Linked DNA regions of Homo sapiens: region 2 is linked to region 1. Evidence: promoter capture Hi-C in 16 types of primary human blood cells and fetal thymus (Javierre and others, 2016). All regions are on one chromosome and are shown on one strand. The core of a region is centred on a gene start or on the middle of the fragment in contact, and the rest is flanking DNA. Distances in the headings are between cores, read along the strand shown. Region 1 holds the start of KCNG1 (potassium voltage-gated channel modifier subfamily G member 1). Region 2 has its middle 170 kb from the start of MIR3194.

Region 1 (3,708 bases), core at 306-2,805:
TTATTCTTGTTGTTTTAGAGGCTGGATCTCGCTCAGTCACGCAGGCTGGATTGCAGTGGTGCCATCATAGTGCACTATAACCTGGAACTCCTATGCTCCACCCGGCTGGGACTGCCGCGCAGGCTAGTGTGCCCTGCGCTCATTTCTTAGGGTTAACCCTAACCCACTTAATGAGCACCCACGACTCCCCAACCCGAGCCCCACTCAAGCAGAAGGCCTCAGGCTGGTCGGCAGCAGGGTTTCTTCATGTCCTTTCTTGGTTCTCTGATGATAGGCAAAGGCAGTAGAGACAGAAAGGAAAAGAGGAACGGAGTGCAAGAGACAGAAAGGAGAAGAGGAACGGAGTGCAAGAGACAGAAAGGAGAAGAGGAACGGAGTGCAAGGCAAGCCACCCTAAGAGGCCAGCCCTGCCAGCAGCACAGATCCCTCCAAACCAATAGGTCCCTCCAACTCAGTAGATTCCTCCAACCCAATAGATCCCTCCAACCCAACCTCCAGCATCTGTGCAGCATCCTACCAACTCCGAGGCTAGGCGGCCACACTGGGAGCAAGACCCCAGGACCTGGTCCAAGTGCCCTGCACCGGCCAGGGGAGTGGACGACGAAGTGCGGCTCTGCTAGCCCGGGAGGGCTCTGGGGCCTCGGCCCCGCGGGACTGGAAGGGAAAACACCTGGCACGGTACGTACTGGCCCTAGGAATTTGGCACAGCAAGATGCTGGCAGTCCCTGGGTGGCGGTGGCAGGAAGGGCCCAAGGGCAACATTGGTCTAGGAGGTCGAGAAAAGGCGCGCGATATATGGCCCCCAGGATGTGGAAGCTTGCTTGGAGCGTTCGGCTCCAGGGCAGCAGCGCGTGGAGGGCCTCAAGGATGCAGTATTTGCCCGGGGTAGGGGGGCGAGGGACCCAGAGGCAGCAGTGCACTTGGACTTCCAGGACTTCCAGGGAAAGGCAGGAGACATGGCGCATGTGGTTCCCAGGATGTGTAAGCGCGTGGAGCGCGGCCCCGGGGCAGCGGAGAGTGGGGTTTTAATATCTAGCACATGTAGACCCTGGGGCGGTGCTGCTAGGGGCGCGGACCCGGGACCACCGGAGCACTTGCACCGCGGGGAAAGCTGACAGGGCGCGCGACCCTAGGAGGCTGCCGCGCCGCCTGGTGCGTGAAGCTCCAGGGCAGCGGAGCGCGGGGACCTTGAAGGCTGTCGCGTGCAGGCGAAGGGGCCGCAGGGTGGTCGCTCCTGGGAGAGCAGACGGGGAAGAAGGCAACGGGAGGGAGGGCGTAGCGCGAGCAGTCCCGGACGCGGGCTCAGGAACTGGCCGCGAGGAGCGCAATCCAGCAGGCGCGCCAGGGCCCCCGGATCCAAGGTGCGGGGTCCCGATTGGGCGCCTGGACGCCCCGTGACGGTGGCGCCGCTGCCACTGTCCCGAAGCGAGGCGAGGCCAGGCGCTGCGCTTTCGGCTGCCCGCCCCTTCTCCCCGCCCCGCGCTCAGTCCCCTCCCTCCGTCCCGCCTCCTGCCTCGCTCCCTCCCTCGGCGGCTGCTGCGCCGCGCTCCCGGCGCACTCGGAGCCCGGCGGGGACCGGGAGGCAGAGACGGGGCGGCCGTGGCTCCGAGGGCGGGAGCTGAGCCGGGCCCCGGGACCGAAGTTTGGCGGCGGCTCCGGGAGGCAGAGCGGGCTCCCCGGGCGACTTCCAGGCCCCTCTCGCGTCCTCGCCCCGGACCCGTGGGCAGCCGGGGGGAACGGAAGCCGCGGCCGGGCCAACTCCGAGGCGGGGACGCCGCGACGGGAACTTGAGGTGGGAACTTTGCGCGCTGCAGCCTCGCCGGGCGCCACCGAAGCGCGAACCGGACCCCGAGCCTGCAAACTCGGGCTCGGGGGCGGCTGCACGTGGCCGTGGCCCTGAACTCCCTGCGGGGGCCTCGAAACCCGCCTGCGGGGAGGCCAGGGCGACAGAGGACTCGGGAGTCACCGCTGGTGCGTGGCGGCGTGGAGCGCGCTTGTTACGGCCAAGGTGCGGGTCCGGCTTCGGTTCATCCCAAGGGGTCACCGGGATGCGAAGTCCGGGACGTTCGCCGCCGCGGTGACCCCGGCGGGGGCGCATCCCGGCTGTGGGCCGAGGTTTCTCCCCCGATCCTGGGAGGAAGGAGAGTTAGGGATTGGGGTGGGGGAGTGTGTGTCACTTGCTCATTCACTGTATCCTTAGGCACAGTATGGAGCCCCCCTTCACCCCCACCGTGGGCCTGATTGAGTCATTCATTATGAACACAGCAAGCGTTTATTGAGCGCCTACTGTGTGCTAGGCACTGGGGATACTGAGACAGTTCACTGGGCACCCCCAGGAACTGGTAGGAAGGTGGTGGTCTCAGCCTTAGGGTTTCCATGTGGGAGAGAGGCTCAGCCCGGAGGTATGGAAGGAAAAGGGTGAAGTTCATTCATTCATTCATAGATTGGACAAAGATTGGTTGAGCACCTATTGTAAGCAGCTCATCATACCAAGCGCTCAACAGTCATTCATCCAGTTCACAAACATTTATGGAGGCGCTATGCTGGGGAGAAGTGAAGAGGGATGGAATGGGGGCACCCTTCATGCAGCTTAGAGAGAAGTAAGGATTAAGACCCAGGCCCCCGCTTGGGAGGCCGCAGACTGCCGGGGTGGCCAACTGTAGCAGCCCATGTATATAGGCAGAAGTCTTGGTTCATCTAATGCATTCCTTCTCAAGGTGGGAGGTGTGGAAGCTGGAATTGGTTCTAGAATAGGAAGAAAAGATCTTTTCAAAGCTCCTTAGGGGCGGGTGATGGGGTAGGGTGGGGAGGAGTTGAGAAACACTGATCCGACATTACTGAGGAATGCAGGTTCCCACCAATGGGGTTTATGAGTTAGGTTGTCCATTCAGCAGGCATTTTCTTAAGCACTCGCTGTTATTAAGCACTTAAAGGGTGCCAGGCACCAAAGTTACCCAGGTAAATGACAGACACATAGAAGAGGGAGACAGACACAGACGCCCCCACCCCCTTTGCTGACTCCCTGAGATAAGTACAGGGGGAAGTAAGAGGAGGGAGCAGGAACTGGTCTGATTCATTGTGGGGTGGGGGAAGTTCCTGCCCTATGAATCTGAGCAGAGGTTTATTCATTAGTGTGTGTTTGATACCCCCATACCCATGATGGCAGAGTCCCTATGAAGAGCCTCACCGGCAGCACATCTCCAAGAAAAGTTTGGCACTGCTGATTGGGGCCTTGCGGTCGGCACTGTGGCTAGGGCATGCTGTCCTTCTTTGGGGGATTTTTCAGGCTCTGCCAGACCTGAGCTCTATTTGTGCCTCCCCCGGCTTTTGGAGCCCTGCAGAGTCGCCTGATAGGAGGGGAAGGAGGGAAGGTGTGTTTGAAAAACAGGCAAGCGCTGGCCCCTGGGGATCACCCTCCTCAGTCATTCTCGAAGCCAGCCCGTTCCACGGGAAAGATGTCTGTCCTGGGACACACTCCTAACCTGCAGGGAACTGCAAGCACACTGGAAACGAGGCAACCTAGGTTCTTCTCCTGAGACTTGAGAGCCCAGGCCCGCAGCCTACAGCCTGGGTTGTCAAACCTTGGGAGTAAAAAAATCAACCAAACCCCTAGTTTTGCCAAACTCTGGGTTGCCTTTTTGGCCTCTGGGAGGGAGATGTGACATGGGAGGCAGAGGTTACTTGCTTCTCCCCATCCCCAAAGACTTT
Region 2 (3,421 bases), core at 656-3,155, 260 kb before region 1:
GCCTTTCAGAGGGGAGGCGTCCTCTCCGCTGAGCTTGTTGGAAGAGGCTTCAGGGGTCACCTCTGCCACCTGAAGGGGCACCTGCTTGCGAATGCAGCCAGCACTGGGAATGCAGTCCCAGCACCAGGCCAGGCCCCCTATGACAGTCTGAGCAAAAGAAAAAATCAGCCAGAATAATCCTGTTTTCATTTGCAAACATAATATTTTGCCTCATGGATATTTGCCATGGATCCTTTTTGCATTAATTTTGATTTTTTAAAATAGTGCATTCAAATATAATTTATCTTGATGACTGGGCTTTTAGGCCCCCTTACATTTTGCAGGTGGGGCTGGTGCCTCACTTGCCTCCCCCTGGGGCTGGCCCTGGTAGTTGCCATTGGAAGGCTGGGCTCCAGTCCCGGCTCTGCTATGACAGATCTATGCAGCCTTGAGCAAACTGTGTGGCCTTTGCAAAGCCAGTTAATTCATCTGAACAATAGGGATGACAGTACCAGCTGGGCTGGGTTAGATGAGCTGATGTATGTAAAGCCTTGTAAGTAGTGCCTGCGTGAATACAACGCACTTTCGTGGCAGAACATGCAACTCCTCGTCCTCCCAACAGCAGAGATGAGAAGCTCCCTCAGGGTCGGGCACTGGGCTAAGGGGTGAACATGCATATTCTAATTGAATCCTCCCTACAGCACCCTGAGATTTTAACCCTGGGAAATAAAACCTATTGTTACAGGTATCCCAGGTTTACAGATGAGGAAATAGGCATAGACCTCTACGTCTCTTGGCAAGGGCCACTCAACAGTAGCTGCAAGATCTGGGCAGAAGGTACCTGATTCTAACTTAGGTGAAGAAGAAAGCAGCAAGCTGCAATTATCACCCATTACCAAGCACCCCACACGAGATCAAACTCCAGAGCTGAGCTCACTTTACCGACATCCCTGATCATGAGATTTTGAGGCTGTTGAATTTTCATTGCTTGTGCTGCTTTGGGCCAGCTTTTATACCTAATATAACTGTAAAATCACCATCACTGATGTGTGCTTAGTCATGTTGACATTCTATGCAAATGGGGCAATGAGACCTTGGGACCTCTCTGGCCAAACCCAGAGCAGAAGAAGCATGGAAACAAGGATGTTCTCAACACACATCTAGCCTAGTGTGTGTGTCACCAAGCAGAGTCTGTCAGCTGCAGGAAGGACAGCTGAAACCTCCTGGGACTAATCGTTTGTTGATGAATCACTAGGACTTTCTCACCTCTTTAAATTCTCTTCTGTAGAGAAATCACATTTTTTCCCCCACCCAGTGTTTATCCCTCCTTTTTTGCTAGAACAGAATTGCAGTTTCCCTGCAGGTAGGCAACCACTCTCAGTCTATGGGGTTTGGGTGGGGCTGACCCCACCCTTAGGTCCTGGTGAATGCAGAACTCAGGCCCAGCCCATCAGAACTGAAGGTACCACCTGAGCTGTACAACCTGAGCTGTGCCTATTGCTACTGAGCTTGTGGGATGTAGGTCTAGAATTGTGGACAGCGTCCTTGTCACTCGATGAGAAGAGCTTGCCTAAAAACCAAGCTAGCAGAAAGGAAGGCAGAGCCCAGAGATGAATCTTTATTTTTTTATTTTTTGAAATCGTATAAATACCTGGATCCAGCCATGCCTGAAGCCAAATGCACCCTGGTTTTTCATTTACATGAACCTATAAACGCCTTTCTTCTTAGGTCAGTTTGAGTAGAGTTTCTATCCCCTTGCACGGGAGACAGTCCTGATAAAACCACCTCCTTGACTGGAGGACTTGAAGGTGGTGAATGTTTCTTATACTTTTTTGAATCCCTTAGAAAGCCTAACACAGTGTTTGACTCCCAAGAGGTGATCAGAAATGTTTGCTGGTATGGCAGGCAAGGTTCATTGTCTGCCCTGTAATCATTCTCCCTCCGTCCTTGCTAACAGTACCCTCACTTTGTCAGGGAGACAATGTGCTTAGCCATCCCCCACCCCCAAAATAGGTTGTGATTAACTTAAGCCAGTTGTGACAATCATGCCCCCTAAATTTCTCAGAATCCTTTGCAGTTAGGGGTGGTCCCATGACTTACTTCTGACCAAGAAGACCAAGGGGAAGTCTGCTGTGGGGCCTTCTGGGAAAGGCTTTGCCCTTGTAATGGAAAATGTAGCTATGCTAAGGCTGCCTTTTCTTCTTTTCTCCTTCTTGCTTTGAGCATAGTTGTGAGGTCTGGAGCTACAGGAGCCATTTTGTGATCATGAGGCAAAAAGCTAAAATGCTAAAGAAGGCAAAGTAGAAAGACATAAAAAAGAAAATGCCTAGGTTCCTCACATCCTATTCGAGCAGCTGAATTAAAACCAGTATTGCCCACCTCTGGACATCTTATGTGAAACAACAAATCTGTCCCCAACTCCAACATACATCTATTTGTTTAAGCCACTATTAGTCAGGCTTCTGCTGTATGTAGCCAAACACAGTTTTTTTGTTTTGTTTTGTTTTGCACTGTGCATAATTCAGTGGCTTGAGCAAAGTTTTTGTTAGAGTAAGAGTTTCTGGTCATTAGTCAATGGAAATATATCTGTATATACATTCGTTCATTCATTCATTTTTGAGACAGGGTCTCACTCTGTTGCCTAGGCTGGAGTGCAGTGACATGATCATGACTCACCATAGCCTCAACCTCCCAGGCTCAAGTGATCCTCTTGCCTCAGCTTCCCATGTAGCTGGGACTACAGGTGCATGCCACTGTGCCTGGCTAATTTTTATTTATTTTTTGACCAGATGGGGTTGGGGTGTGTGAGGGGGTCCCACTATGTTGCCCAGGTTGGTCTCAAACTCCTGGTTAGAGTGATCCTCCTGTCTCAACCTCCCAAAATGCTGGGATTACCAGGGTGAGCCACCACGCCCTGTCTGCATACACATTGAATATGCATCAAATGTACAGACTAACTTTTGAAACTAATACCCTTATAGTCTGTCCAACAGACACTTCCATGAACATGTGCTAAGGTCATAGAAACTTAATATTAAAATAGAACACAGAAAACTTCCTGAAAGGAGGAGCAAATCTCATTTGTGTGTATCTGACTGGCCCAACCTCAATAACATCTTGAGGCCCAGCAGCAAGAGGCTCTGGGACATGTAGTTGGTCACTTTCTTGCCTCTACAGATGGGAAGACCGGCTAGGATGAAGGTGAAATGGATGGTGTATGCCAGCTCACCACACCTGCCATGCCACCTTATTGTACCAACCCCAGCAAAAGATGGACCTTGTTGTATTTCAAAACTCTTTTAAAATTTAATCCTGGGGGTCAGGTGCAGTGGGTGGCTCACGCCTATAATCCCAGCACTTGGGGAAGGCAGGTGTGGGAGGATCACTTGAGGCCCAGAGTTTGAGACCAGCCTGGTCAACATGGTGAAATCTCATCTCTACT

The links. The method cuts DNA at HindIII sites, captures the fragments that hold promoters and counts their contacts. A CHiCAGO score of 5 or more calls a contact.
Region 2: a fragment that was not itself captured here is called in contact with the fragment with the promoter of KCNG1 in region 1 in 8 of 17 cell types (endothelial precursors, M2 macrophages, naive B cells and 5 more); the score reaches 8.6 in endothelial precursors.

What each region holds. Positions count from the first base shown.
Region 1 is chr20:51,020,954-51,024,661 of GRCh38, reverse strand. It overlaps KCNG1 (potassium voltage-gated channel modifier subfamily G member 1), which reads left to right and starts at 1,555. Exons shown (of 3, transcript NM_002237.4): 1 at 1,555-1,792. RefSeq lists a silencer at 1,457-1,626 and an enhancer at 3,351-3,708. The HindIII fragment of the contact is 2,899 bases long and covers 819-3,708 here.
Region 2 is chr20:51,282,098-51,285,518 of GRCh38, reverse strand. No RefSeq gene overlaps it. Among named protein-coding and RNA genes, the nearest start is that of MIR3194, 170 kb to the left of the region's middle. The HindIII fragment of the contact is 5,646 bases long and covers 1-3,421 here.